Regions from separate parts of the Homo sapiens genome. Here region 1 is linked to region 2. Evidence: promoter capture Hi-C in 16 types of primary human blood cells and fetal thymus (Javierre and others, 2016). All regions are on one chromosome and are shown on one strand. Each heading gives the region's core, a stretch centred on a gene start or on the middle of the fragment in contact. The rest is flanking DNA. Distances are from core to core; before and after follow the strand shown.

The links. The method cuts DNA at HindIII sites, captures the fragments that hold promoters and counts their contacts. A CHiCAGO score of 5 or more calls a contact.
Region 1: a fragment that was not itself captured here is called in contact with the fragment with the promoter of RTTN in region 2 in 4 of 17 cell types (monocytes, M2 macrophages, M1 macrophages and 1 more); the score reaches 15.9 in monocytes.

What each region holds. Positions count from the first base shown.
Region 1 is chr18:70,495,051-70,502,510 of GRCh38, forward strand. No RefSeq gene overlaps it. Among named protein-coding and RNA genes, the nearest start is that of LINC01910, 110 kb to the left of the region's middle. The HindIII fragment of the contact is 2,805 bases long and covers 710-3,514 here.
Region 2 is chr18:70,204,216-70,211,777 of GRCh38, forward strand. It overlaps RTTN (rotatin), which reads right to left and starts at 1,472. Exons shown (of 49, transcript NM_173630.4): 1 at 1,413-1,472; 2 at 913-1,100; 3 at 1-48. The coding sequence starts at 1,443. LOC105372180 (a long non-coding RNA gene) reads left to right here and starts at 1,574. Exons shown (of 3, transcript XR_935599.3): 1 at 1,574-2,359; 2 at 2,814-2,879; 3 at 5,478-6,769. It overlaps LOC124904321 (a long non-coding RNA gene), which reads right to left. Exons shown (of 2, transcript XR_007066411.1): 2 at 6,138-6,869. RefSeq lists enhancers at 1,172-1,301, 1,512-1,621, 1,540-2,169, 1,632-1,871. The HindIII fragment of the contact is 5,232 bases long and covers 1-5,221 here.

The sequences.
Region 1 (7,460 bases), core at 862-3,361, 290 kb after region 2:
AAGACAGCATACAAAACTGCATCTTAATTTTAGGCCTTACACCCATGTGTGGGTTAGGGATGTCAAAGGGAGAGTAGCATGTGGAGGCTAATAAATTAAAAATAATTAAATGAGCCAGACGTGGTGGCTCACACCTGTTATCCCAGCACTTTGGGAGGCCGAGGCAGGCGGATCACGAGGTCAGGAGATCGAGACCATCCTGGCTAACACAGTGAAACCCTGTTTCTACTAAAAATACAAAAAATTAGCCGGGCATGGTGGCAGGCGCCTGTAGTCCCAGCCACTTGGGAGGCTGAGGCAGGACAATGGCATGAACCTGGGAGGCGGAGCTTGCAGTGAGCTGATATCACACCACTGCACTCCAGCCTGGGCAACAGAGCGAGACTCTAAAAAATAAATAAATAAATAAATGGCTAGCCAAAGTAACCAGATTCCTTTTTTTCCTCCTTATAAGAGGCAGCCTACATTTAAGGAACAGTTCCACTGTGCTCTCTGAGTCACTTTCTTTGAACTTCATCATGGAGTATTCATAAGAGGCACACAGCTCACCCACCAGGGCAAATGAAGGGAAAAGTTCCAAAGAGGTGCTTCATGCCCCATAGCAGGTAATTTCTGAGCAGTGAATGTTTAGCGTCCCAGACATGAAATTTTAAATTTGGTTTTATACAAGGGTCCCAGGTACCTTCATACACCCACATATTTTTTAGCAAGCTTGTGCATGTGGGCCACAAAGCACAGAATGATTTCTTTCTGCAGACTAGATATGGAGTTTTTATTTATTTTTAATAATTTATTTTATCCTCTGGTGGGATTTTGTATATACTAGTGGATATTCTCCAAAGGCACATACACACAGAGGACATATTTACATGATAATTGCTCAGGTAGACAGGTGTGATGCTTGTACTCATTGAATATGGTGTGACTAATTTATTCCATCATGTCAAAGATCACTGTTGATACGAAGTTCTATTTATTGTCTTTGAGTGTGTTTTATACTATGCTGGGTTATCTGATTTTTATTTTTATTCCTGGGCATTGCTCTATTTTCTTCCAAGGGCCCACCAAATGAGATAGAGGTAAATGTCTAGGTCTGTATTCTCAGATTTTGCTACAGAAAATTATGTATTTTCTAGATTTTCTTTCCAGAGACCCTTAAGACCAAAACTGTGGTTTCTAATTGCACCACTTGTTCTTAATGTTTGGCCACTCATTTACTCCCATAAGGGTTTCCCTCTTCACTGAGAATAAATAGCCAAACCCCTGATTTGTCTCTTTCTTGCAAAGGTGGGTTAGAGTGGGGTGGTCCAGTACACGACTCTAGGAGTGAAGGAGCTGGCCTCACTCTTAAAATTGCAAGTGCTTTTTCCTATTTCCACTCAGTGGCTATGAGATCTGCAGCTCTCAGCCCCTGCCTGTGTGGCACCATCGTGACTCTGCCGAGCGTTCCCATCCAGTGTGGGGAAGGCAAGATTTAGGCCAGTTGTTAAAATCCTGATGAGAGTTAATGCATGCCGAACAGGGATTTACATTCTAGCTTGAGAGTCATTAAAAATGAATGCTATGCTGAGCTATTTTATCTTGGCTTTTGGATTTGGAAAAGCCTCTAATAAAAGCCTCTAAGAAAGACTATGAATAACTTGAAAGTCCCTTCATATTCATAATAGATATTTTGCAGCAAAGAATTTCCAATGTCCAGTTATAATCAGTGACCAATAGTCAGCCACCAGGGTGGGAATTATTACTCTCTGTGACTTCTCAGGCATCTGCTTAACCTGGGTAGGCAGAAAATGAGAATGTTTTATGTCAGTAAATTAAATCTGTTGCAGACAGATCAGCCATTTATGGTAGATGACAAGCCTTAGTCATCGTTTACTGTCAATAATAATATTGTAAGTATGTAGTGGGGATGGTGGGGGCTGTGATGTGTGTCAGTATCTCTATAATAGACTTCTCTCTAAGATGCAAGTATCCAGAGATACGTTTGGCAGATAATAGGTTCAGTTTTATGAGCTTTATTGTTATCTTGGTGATGTGCTGATACCTAAAATCTCAGCATAGGCATAGCTGCAGCAACTGGAACTGCCTGGGGTTATAGATTGCTAAATGTAATTATTCAAGCACAGTTGTGTTGACAGGTGACTTCAGAAATATAGAGATTCTAATCATGGCTCTGCAAAGTTTGGTGGAGATTGCTCCTTGAATAAATAAAATATAAAATTTATACTGATATCGTGTAAATGAGCTTCTAAGAAAGAGCCCTATTAATGAGAAGAAAGCACATTGCATTAGAGGTCAGATGTACTACTTTTAAAATATCTGAGACAGAAGAAGAAGAATTTTGCAAGCATTCATGGAGAGCATTTTTTGGATGTCACTTTAGGTTACTGGTGAGCACTGAAATAATTGAAATCCATTTCTGACTTCACAGATTGAATGAAATTACTTAAACAACACACATGTAGACAAAAAAAAGCCTCTGATTGAATATAAGCCCTATGTAAACAAAGAATGTTAGTTTAGGAGACTAGAAATTCATGTAAAAATATTCTTTTTAATCCTTGGGCTCATTAAAGGGAGCTAAATTGTGCCAGATTAACTGAATCCGGTATTTGGGGTATCCAGGCCATCTAAATCTCTCCCTCTACTCAATTGGGGCTTCCGCCTGCTAAGGAGGGGGAGTAGGGACTCAAAATATATCCAATATATTAAATAAAATATTCATTATAATTTATATAACTTGAAATTTAGTGCTCTTCCAACAGAGTTGCTAGATTTAGCAAGTAAAATTACAGGATGCCCATTAAAATTGAATTTCAAATCAACAAAGAATATTTCTTTTCACTTTTAATAAAGTTTATTTTTTAGAGCAGTTTTGGGTTCCCTGTAAAACTGAGCAGAAAATACAGAAGAGTTCCTATATAACTCCTGACCACCCTCCTCCCTCATATCTGCATCCCCCACCAGCAGAGTGGTACATGTGTTATAATTCATGAAACTATATTGACACATCATTATCACCCAAAGTCCACAGGTTACATTACAATTCACTCTTGGTGTTGTACTTTTGGTGTTGTATGGGTTTTGAGAAATGTATAATGATATGTGTCCACCATTATAGTATCATACAGAGTATTTTCACAGTCATAATGATCTGTGAATCTCTGCTTATTCATCCCCCTCTCCCTTAAACTCCTGGCAACCACTGATCTTCTTACTGCCTCCATAGTTTTTCCTTTCCCAGAATGTTGTAAAGTTGGAATTGTACAGTATGCAGTCTTTTCAGATTGGTTACTTTCACTTAGTAATGTGCCTTTAAGTTTCTTTCATATCTTTCCATGTCTTCATAGCCCATTTCTTTTTAGCCCTGAATCCTATTAATATTCCATTGTCTAGATGTACCACAGTTGACTTACTCATTCACCTGGTGAAGGACATCTTGCTTGCTTCCAAGTTTTGGAATTAAGAATAGAGCTGCTATAAACATCTGTGTGCAGATTTTGGTGTGGACGTAAGCTTTAAATTCATTTGGGCAAATGCCTAGGCGTTTGAATGCTGGATTATATGGTAAGAGTGTGTTTCCCTTTGTAGGAATATTTTTTTTCAGTTTAAGTATGTCCGTAGTGTTGCATGACATCCCTCCCTGCCAAAGATGGAGTGGCTTCCTGCAGTGCAGTGCGTGCAGAAGTCACAACATTTCTAGTCATGGTTGTGACCAATAGGGTAAACTTTTACATTTCTATCTGCCCCTCCAGTTGGGGTAACTCACCCCTACCCACTGGCTGGATACCTTGGCAGCCAATGGGGCTAGAAGGAGCCAGAGACCCCAATCGAGGATGGCTGGGCCAAGACACATTCTTGATCCTGGTTGTGCCAGCCACCCTTAAAATCCCTACTGGACTTGGTGCTGTGGGCTTAGAGGTGCCCTAAGTTCCAGAACTGCCTCTGGGCTTCTTGCCTTTTCTCTCATTCTCCTTCTGTACCATGCTGCTTTCTGGTGCCCAGGCGTTGTTCCTGCTGCTGCTGACTTTGTTCCCCTGAGCTGCTGGGTTCCGATGATACCAAAGATTCCTCAAGGTGGGCTGAAGCCTTCAGGATTGAGGCCCACGGTCTGGAAGGCATGAGCCCTTCTCCGTGGAGCTGTTTGAGGTCAGAAGGAAAAGCAGCCCCTCCTGTGTCAGGGCGATGGCAGTGCCGGGTGTTGCACAGGCTGGGTTCGGCATGACCACTTCCGCTTCCCTGCCAAGATCGCTGTCGCTCAGCCAGTTCTTGAGGCGAGGCTCCAAAGCGGTGGCGTCAAAGCTGGCTGCTCAGTGGAGGCCCCTAGGGAGCTGTGAACGCCCCCGTGGGCAGGCCTCATCAGGCTCAGTAAGTCAGGAGGCTCAAGGTCGCCGCAGGCAGGGGTATTCTGAGTCTCTGAGGGCGGAACCCCTGGTCTCCGGGGAGCTGCCGCTGGGCCCCAGCTGGGGGCACCATGGAAGGCATTTCCGCCCCGGGCACTTTGCCTAGCCGGCTGTCCCCGAAGCCACAGCCTTCTCACTTCCGGGAGTCGAGGCCCTAGGCTGACCTCAGGTGCTAGGGTGCGTCCCTGGCCGCCGTGGGGCCCATTACCTGACGCGGAGCAGCCGTGGGCGCCGTGCGTGCCGGTTCCCTGCGTGCCTGGACCCAGAATGGACCAGGCTGGAGTGCGACGGTGATTTGAGGCAGTCACTGATTATTTCTATGCCTCCGTGGACTCTTCTTTTGGAAAATCTAAGTTCCCTAAAACTCTAACAGTTAATCTGATAAAATGGGACATAAAATACATATTTTTCCTTCCATGTGATGTGAGGAAGTTGAGCTTCAAAAAAACGGTCACAAAAACAAAGAGAGTGCCTGGCGGCCTGGACTCCGGATCCTGTGAAATAAACCCGGCCGGAGCTGCTCTTGTCTGAGGACAGGAGTTCTTGAATCACCTTATTCCTGCGAATAAAGGTGTCCCTCCCACTTGTCAAGCTCTTGAACTGGGTGAATAAACCCAATTTTTGTAAAATCATAATGTTAATTGACTAACGGTGGAAACAAAAATTTAATCATAAGGTTTGTGAATAGGCATGGATTCCAAGCAAAGAGACTGAGATGCTTTAAAATAGATGTTTTTCATCAACCTGTCCACAAAAGAGGCTGTTTTGCCGGACATCCTGGCAGTCATTGATGTCTGAGATTTTTCTGGGACTGTGGATAGGAACGGTCACATGCAAGCTGTGACTCTCATTGTTCTGTGCTTCCAGGGAAGACGAGCTACCTTTTGAATTAAAAGGTAAATAAGCCATTAGGTTAATGTTTATTCTTGCAATTTACGAGCAGTTTTTTTTTTCAATTCGCATATTTGTGCTCCAGTTACCTTAATTTTGTACTTCAATTTCAGATGCAATTCTTCTATTCTTAATATATTCAGGTCTCATTTCAACCAAAATATAAGGCTTTTTAAAGCTAGAGAAATATGTGAGTGATTATGTTTGCTGATAATTAAACACCTCAGCATCACGTATAATCAAGTAAACTTTATTCATTGAGACAAAAATAGATAAAATACAGAAAAACCAAGAAAATAGTTTCATGGATCTGGTTTCAATTCTGTACAACCACCATTTTGGGAGTCCTACTATGTGTCAGGCACAGGAGCTCGTTATTGGATCAACAAGAGAAAGATAATGTCCTATCTATAAGGTGATGACAGAGGAAATGGATATGTTATAGATAATTTTTATTAAATGGTCAAAGGCAATTTTAGATTTAGATAATATTTGGCTATAATTTTGTTATAAAATGTGCACTTAAATTTTAAGGCTTTTAAATGGTAATGATATAAATGTTGCATTGAAATTTCAGTACTAATAATGATCACGTGATGTACTGATACATAAGTCCAGGGAAGAAATAGCCATATAACAGAAGAAACCTCTGATGGTTCTAATCCCTGAATATAGGTTAATGTTTCATGACTTACTAATTTTATTAGTAAAACAGAAAGAATATTGTATAGCGACTTGTACTTATATGAACACAGATATATTCCAATTATTATGTAGTATTTCTTCATGGTCTAAAAAGGGAGTAATCTAAAAAAGACATTTAATATGACCATGACTTGGCATTGGAGAGTTAAAGTGGGTTTACTCTGATTTGCTTTAATAAGTGCTTTATTTTTACATTTTTATTATTAAAAATAATCTCAGAATTTTCTGGTCTTCCTAACGAGGGGAGAAATAAATTTTCAGAATTTTGAGCTAGAGAATATTTGCACTCATATTTCGCCTTTGCTATAGAATTCTAACCAGTATTTGCTGTTGCAAATAAATCTTCTAAAAAAAGAATGGCTAAAAAAATTGCTACTAGATGTGCACCAAATGTTTTTCTAACAGGCAGTTAAACTGGATTATATAAATCAAATGTAATGATGGTTTTTAAGTCACCGTTTTCTCCAGGTCCATTTCATTTTATGATTCTGTCATCAGGTTTCTTTGGTGACAGGCAGGCTTCCTCTGTCTTTTTTCTGCATTCTTGTCATTTTATGTCGGCTTTATTCTTTAATTTGAACTTGAATCACGTCATCTATTCTTTCTTTTTTCTCCTTTAGTTTTGCTTTAGTTATTTCGATTCTACACCTTATATGTTCTTTCTAAGTATTTCATACACAAATAGCTTTTATCTCAAGTACTGAGAACTCTTCTAACCTATATAGGTTTTCTTTACTTTAGGATATGATCCAAAAATATTGAGTTGAATGGACTTACTGGATTAAAAAGGCTGTGATTAAGTATGTTAATTTACATTTTGATTTGTGAAAATCAAAGTTGATTAGCAGTATAATGAACATATTTGAAATAATTTGGGCTCTTTTAGCCAGAATTAGAATAAGATTTGTGAGGAAGAAATTGAATCTGCTTTGGTTATTTAACAGTTTTCTTGCCAGTGTATTTTATGTGGATACAGCACTTAGGAACATCAGAAACATACAGTATTATCATGCTGGAGAGAGACTGTGGGAAATGCTTCTTTTGCTGTATATGTACTCGTTTAGAATTTTGATCCAAGTTCTGGAATGTTTGTTATATCTGTACATATGTTCAACTCTGTCTTGGATTTGTTACAGTGTCCAGAGAGCATATCTAAGACTTTTCCTCTGTTTTTCTGGGGAAGTAAAACATACTTTGATGATTCCAGAAACTTTATCCGTATTTTGCTACACATATATACTTACACATATTTGCACAATGTAAACTCTATATTATGAAAATAACACTTACTCATTAAAAATCAAGAATACAGAAGTCCTGCTCCTCTGGGCTTTCTTAATAATTGGGTGTCTATTCTTCCCAGTTTTTTTCTATGTCTATAGCAGTGGTTCTTATACTTTAGTAAGCGTCAGACTCTACTGGAGGGAGTATTAAAACAGATTGCTGGGTCCCACCCCACAG
Region 2 (7,562 bases), core at 222-2,721:
GAACTCTACTGCACCAACGTCAACCAAATGTTGGACTGCTGGGGGATACTAAAATAAGAAGAGGATGATCTTGAGAATAACTGTATCAAAATCTCTATAACTTACAGCAATCAAAACATAAAATTATTTTTGGTATATCAGATGTTCCTTTTCTGAAAAACAAATCCTTCATGGCTCTGCCCCGAAGTAAGGCACTTCCATGAGGAGCACATACACCTATAGAGACATACATCCAACACTTGATAACATTTATGAAAGATGAGCCAACACACTGAACGCTAGAAATGCACATTATCAATCCCTACTCTTATTTTTTTAATGGGTTACTTTTTTCCACTGACACTCACCTTATGGTCCCAGCCCCAACCGGTCAACAGGATGTCAAAGTAGTTTAAGATTCCTCTACCATTGTACAGTGATTTAGTTTTGAAAGGTTAAACTTACACTTTGATATCTGACCCCGATAACTAACTACTCTTGAGGTAGGCATAAGAATACCAATCTAAAAGCATATGGGCAAGCAACTTAACATTGGTATTTATGAATCACGGTTATGTAACATTATTTTTAAAGTGCTCCCTTTCATACTGACATATCTAGTTTTTAAGATGTAAATGTCAGAAAACAAAAACAGAATACAAATATTAACCTCCAAAGATAACTCAAAAACACAGAACATACCAAAACTCAAAAGAAGTTCTGTGTTACTTCTGAGCACAGCAGAGACCATGTGGGATTCAGTATCACAAATAAAAGATGAACCATATACCCAGATTAATTAAAATTAAACATCTCTGGTTGATTAAAAAAACTTTTAACCCCAATTATTTAACTTTCAATAAACGCTACAATTAAATGACTAAGAAACAAGTCACTCGTCTGATTATTTTCTTTATTTCAAAATGACCCTACCTTAACCAATCTGCTTAACAGGTTCAGAACCTCTTCCTTCATCGGAACGGACGGGAAATTGAACCATTCCAGCAAATGAAGAAAAAGTTGCCTCTCCTGAATGAGATCAGCGTAGCAGATTAAGTTGTGCTCAATCTTGCAGAGAATACTCTTGAGAGCGCGCTCCCTGATCTCGGCCAGCTGATGACCTGTCAACGAACGGCACAAAACTATTTTATTTCCCGACTGCAAAGAGACTACGTTATTTATGCTGTGGGCAGGAGCGGCGTGAAGACGGAATAAACCAGTTTTTTTCAGAAGCAGGCCACTGGTGCCTTCGGGACGCGAACCGCGAAGTTTACACAAAGTCCGAGATGGGTCCCCGGGGGCTATCCTGACAAAGCGGGGGTGAAAGAGGGAGCGGTCGCGGAGCGGCCGGCCGCGGAAACGTGACACGACCATTCTCAGCAAGTGGCCAGAGCGCGGGGGGTGCCTTGGGCGAGGGGCAAGCTGACAGTTACCGAGTTTCCTGATGAGCCCTGCCAGGACCATCTCGTCCCGTCAATCTGCAGCCGCCGGAGAATTAAACTGCCGCGCCACTGCGTCCAGCCACAATTAATGTACCCCCGGAAACACGTCCTGTGGGACGGTGAGTTCCGCAACGCCTGCGCTCACCAGGAGTAGGAGTCATTACGTGAGCCCTTCGCGGCCCCAGCGTCGCCAGGAGAGCTTCCAGCCTCTCTAGAATCACTACTGCGCACTTCCTGGACAGCAGTCTCCGTCGCAAGAAGCGGAGGGAAAAAAAAAAGCAACAAGCAGGGATAGAACCAGCGTTGGCCGCCGCGCACGTCGGGAGTTGTAGTTCTGGCTAGGCCGTGCGTCCTGCACCGATCTCCGGGCCCGCCGCGGCGCCCGCTGGCCTGGGGTTCCGGCTTACAGCGCGGGAATTCGGGAACCCAGCGCGGGCTGCAGAGGCCCCAGCAGGAGCCCCGCCTCCCGGCTCGTCGACGGATTCGTTCTTGGCCCTGCCAATCTGATTCTCAGCTCCCAGAACTTCACGATTTAGAATGTAGACTTTTGCTTTGTGACAGTTCTCCCCATCCCCGACTACTAAATGACGAACCCTCTTTAACTGTGAAATGTACCTGCAAAGTCAAGCAGTGTCTTTGGATACCCAAGTTCAGATATGAACAAGCAAGCTACAAAAGCGGGGTGGGCGGGTATGAGTGAGCAGAAGAGAGAAACCGGGCTGCAAAAAAGGAAAATAAAGGCGGGACGTGGGGGTATGATTTGCTGAATGGTACCAAAGTTGATTTTTTGCACCGTGCACAGTGATCGAGCTGAGCAAATTATTTTTTTTTTAATTATAAGCAGCGGTAAGAACAACAACAAAATTACATTTGGAAAATGATTTGCATTTTCTCGGTCTGATCATTTCACGTTCCCTGGGAAAGGGATGTCAAGGCAGGTAAAGTGGGCCCTCGGTATCCCTAGGTAATTGGTTCCAGGACCCCCGCAGATACCCAAATCCACCCATGCTTAAGTCTCTTTTATAAAATGGTGTAGTATTTGCATATAACCTACACACATCCTCCTATATGCTTTAAATCATCTCTAGATTGCTTACAATACCTAATACACTGTAAATGCTATGTAAATAGTTGTTACACTGTACTTTTATTCATATTATTTTTTAATTGTTGTATTGTTATTTTCAACTGTGGGGTTTTTTCCCGAATATTTTCCATCCCGTGTGTTGAATTCTCTGTGTGCAACCAGTGGACAGCAAAGGCCTACTGTATTCCCATTCCTATTTTGCCAAAGAGGAAACTTAGAATCACAAAAGTACCCCCACACAAAGTCACATTAACTAGTAAGTGACAGATTGAGGAGCTGACCTGATGTTTCTTTGTTCTATTTAGAGTGCCTTGCTGCCTCCTCATGTGTGTCAATAGGAGAGTGATGATATTTGAGTTGGATCTTAAAGAGTAAGTAGGAGTTTGCCACACAAAGAAGTTGGGTAAGGAAATTCCTGCAGGAGAAACCTGTATTTGCAAAGGCAAGAATCCAGACGGAGTGTGTCAAATTCGGGAAAAGAACAAAATTCAAGGTGGCCATATTATCTCTGGGAAGAAGAGAGGAAGGGCAAGATTGCTGCTAGCATGCTGGATATTCTCCATTCCACCTTCTAGTGGTTCCTCCCAGCTCTTCCAGCTCTGCATCAACTGACCTGAACAGGCAAAAAGACTGCACTATCCAGGCTGCCTGGCCCTCTGGCTTCCAGTTGGTTGCCGCCGATAGGAGGCATCAGCAGGAAATTGGAAAGTAGGAGGAAAGAGATACGGATATTAAACCAAGATTCCACTAGCCCATGCCTAAGCCTGCCTGGCCAAGATTGTAACAGTGGCTGAATTCCTTGACCCAAAGACCACATGTCCTGATGGATAGCATACCACAGTGGGCACTGCAGAACCAGTTACACCAACTCAGAAGTGTCTGTAGTTATCCAGGAAGGAAGGTGTTAATTACGGATTTGAAGTGTCAAGGTCAAAAAACACATGACAATACAGAAAAATAATAGAAATAACTTGTCAATGATGTTTCTGAGATGAACAATCTTAGGTGATGAGAGACTGTAGATGCAGTGGGGTAAGGGGCGATAATACTGTAGAAGAAATATAAAAAATCCATTGACTTAAAACAAGCATGTTACAAGTAAAATGGGGGTCAAACTATGAAAGGGTTTTACTTATGTTGCACCCAAGGTCAACATAAACATTTTATTTTATTTTCATTGTTGAGCATATATTGCTCCTGTAATTAGACAAAAATAATTAAATCCCATTCATTACATTCAAAGCAAATAATCTATCATTCTCCTATTAGACTATTGATTCAGCAATTTTTCCTAAAAAAAAATCAACCTTTGATTTATTAATTCTACTATTTAAAAACACACATATATATTCTAGTGTATTGACTGTATTATTTTTTACCAGTTACTTCACTCTGTCGCCCAGGCTGGAGTGCAGTGGTGTGATCTCCGCTCACTGCAACCTCTGCCTCCTGGGTTCAAGTGATTTTCCTGCCTCCACCTCCCACATAGCTGGGATCATAAGCATGAGCCACTATGCCCAGCTAATTTTTGTATGTTTAGTAGAGATGGGTTTTCGCCACAATGACCAGGTTGGTCTCGAACTCCTGACCTCAAATGATCCTCCTGCCTCGGCCTCCCAAAATGCTGGAATTACAGGCGTGAGCCACCGCACCTGGGCTACATCCTTCTTTAAGTGTGTTTTGCTGTTCTTTTTTTAACTTCTTAAGCTAAAGGTCTTGTTTACATTCTTTCTTTATTAGTTATAGAGAATTTTAAGTCCATGAATTTGCATGTAAAAAAAGTTTTAATCATGTATCATGAGTTTCAATTTGTAAGGTTTTGTTCTCAGCCAATCTGAAACTGCTGTTTTGATACTTTCTGTTTCACCCAAGATCCATGTAGGAAGATGGTCTTTAATCACCAAGTCTTTCTTACATACACTTTAGTTATTAATTTCGACTTTTATTATATCAGAGTCAGCAACAATTACAAAAGGTCAGGGCCTTTTGTAATTTGAATGTTAAAGTCAAAGATTTTAGGTGAACTTGAAAAAAATGGGCAATAGATGTCTGCGTGGATGTATAGAAAACTACATAATTTTCTTCTTGTATTTACAGTGGTTTTTGTTGTATTTATTTAAATGCTATGTATAAAAACTTATGTTGAATTTTACACGATGATAAATGATGGTCACTCAACTGGTGATATATACATGGATTGGGAAGGGGTCATGGGTAGAGCTATTATATGTTGAGATTTGCTATGATCACAAGCCACAGGACATTAAGGACACATGAACCCAAAGGCGGAGGTCAAATTCTACTATCTAATTATCTACTGATTCTGCTATTTCCACTTGAATCTGATTCATCTTCAACCTCTTGGTCATACCTGTAAAATCACTGGCAGTCATTGCCTCAGTGTGCTGAATCAGATCACTCAGATTAGATGAGATATTTATACCCAAAGTCACAGGAAATAGTTACTCTCCTAAGAACTCATATTACTATCTGTAGGAATTGATTCTAGGGGGAAATGAAATGCTTTTTTTCCTCTTGGAAAAGACATACATTTTTGCTCTTCCTCACACTTTGGACATGAGTTTTCATATTTGGGGTTATACATGGTGGGTCTGTCAGTTGTGATCATGTGCATTTTATACCCTTTCTTTCTGTTAATATTTGATGAAATCTGGTTCATATCAGTATAAGCTAAAATATTGTATAGAGCACAAGCTTTGGAGGTAGACAGACATGGATTTAAAAGCAGTGTTTTGGCTTCCCTAATCACACAACTGTGGGCAAGCTGATTAACTTTCTCGATTGCAAATAACAAAGCTGTAAGTCAGGCAAGTAAGCAAAAATGGGTTATCTAATATCTCACTCTAGAAGTGGATCTAGCCTCAGAGACTCAAAAGAATACCAGTGTTTTTTATTCATCTCTCGGCTTTGATTTTCTCAGTGTGTTGTATGTTTCTCTTCTATTACAGGCAGAATTTCCTCAAAATGTAGAGGAGGAGAAGATTGTGGTCCAGACTTCCATCTTCCCATATAATGACTCCAGAAGAAAAAGAAAGCTTCTCTCTGAGCATCCAGATATAAAATCTATGATAAGAACCCTAATCAGGATTACCAGTAGGAGATTACCTGATCCTAGGTTATTTGTTCACACTCTCTGAACAGCAGGGCAGGATATTATAATTATTAAAATTAGAGTTACAGAAAGTGGGGCAGAAGACTTCCACTTAAAAAGGTATGTTATTCACAGAAAATGAGGGAAAAGAATCTTGCACAGAGGGAAGAAAAAAAATGATATCTCTATACTCACTAAGCCTCAGCTTCCACAAGTAAAAATTAAGATTAATAATAATACCTACTAATAGGACTGCCTGGGGGCCAAAGAAGATGATTTAGAGAAAGGATTTGTTCCAAGACCTCCCATAATAAGTAGTTACTACAAATAATAGCTCTGTTTTAACACCTGTCAAACTTGGAGGTACCTCCCTTTCCAGGAATCGAATGCAATGTCAAACCATGTTCAAGTACTGTCTGTGAGTGTAACTGCAAGGTAGACGCTGCCTTCATCAAAGGGATCTTATGCCCCAGAAACAACTTTGCTACGTAAGTGATGGAGGCTTGCAGAGTGGAGGTGCCCACAACCTTACTGCATTTATTTGTGCAGCCATATCGAAAACATTTCCAGCAACAGAAAAAGGGGGAAGGAAGCACTCTGATACTTTTTTTCTTATTCTTCGGAGGGGACACATTATTGGCCCAAGAGGGAAATCCTTTTACAACCTACTTTTACATTAACTGGGATCATAATTTATTTATGAAAACATCATATAAAAAGAGCAAGCAAGCAGGATTCCTAAACAAAGGGGGCTCAAACCAATATATGTGTAGAAGTTATTCATTGTCCCCAGGGCAGGCATACGTTTTCGTGTGTCTTTCAGGAAAGTCACTGGCACCCCAGCCTTCCTTCTTTCAGAATAAAGGTCATGATTTATTAATAATTCTGATCTCTAGGAAGGAAAAATGACCCCAGGTTTCATCCCTCACTTACGAATTTTCCTAATCATGCCCCATAACTTTGTCCTATGAATTCACATATTTAATTTTGAAGGGCATCATCAAATTCTAATTTATTCTCTCAATACCAAAATAGAAAGTTAATACATATTTTATGCCATTTTAAAGTGGAAGGATTGAAACAAGGTGTATTCACTTTCCATTTCAATTAGAGCAACGTGATTTGAGCCCTGCTTTCTTTTCACAATTTAATAAATAGTTGTCTTAATTATGAAAGGACAGACGCAGATAAAGTTGTCTACTTTCACCACATCCATTCAGCACTGTACTGGAAGTGTTATCCAGGGTAACTAAACAAGAAAAAGAAATAAAAGGCATCCAGATTAGAAAAAAAAGAAAATTTATATATGTAATTGACATCACCTTATATATAGAAAATCCTGACTGGGCGTGGTGGCTCATGCCTATAATCCCAGCACTTTGGGAGGCCAAGGCGGGTGGATCACCTGAGCTCAGGAGTTTAAGACCAGCCTGGGCAACATGGTGAAACCCCATCTCTACCAAAAATAAAATAAATAAAATAAAATAAAATAAAATAAAATAAAATAAAATAAAATAAAATAAAATAAAATAAATAAAATAAATAAAATAAAATAAAATAAAATAAAATAAAAAAAATAAAATACAATACAATACAATACAATACAATAAAAAAATAAGCCAGGAGTGGTGGCATGTGCCTGTGGTCCCAACTCCTTGGGAGGCTAAGGTGGAAGGTGGGAGGATTACTTGAGCCTGGGAGGCAGAGGTTGAAGTGAGCTGAAATGGCACCACTGCACTCCAACCTGGGTGACAGAATGAGACTCCATCTCAAAAAAAAGAAAAAATAATCCTAAGATATTCACAAAGAAACTATTAGAGCAAAGAAGAGACTTTAGCAAGGTTGCAGAATGCAAGATCAATGTACAAAATCAATTCTTTTTCTATACCCTAGCAATAAACAATCCAGAAGTCCAATTTAGAAAATAATTCAATTTCCAATA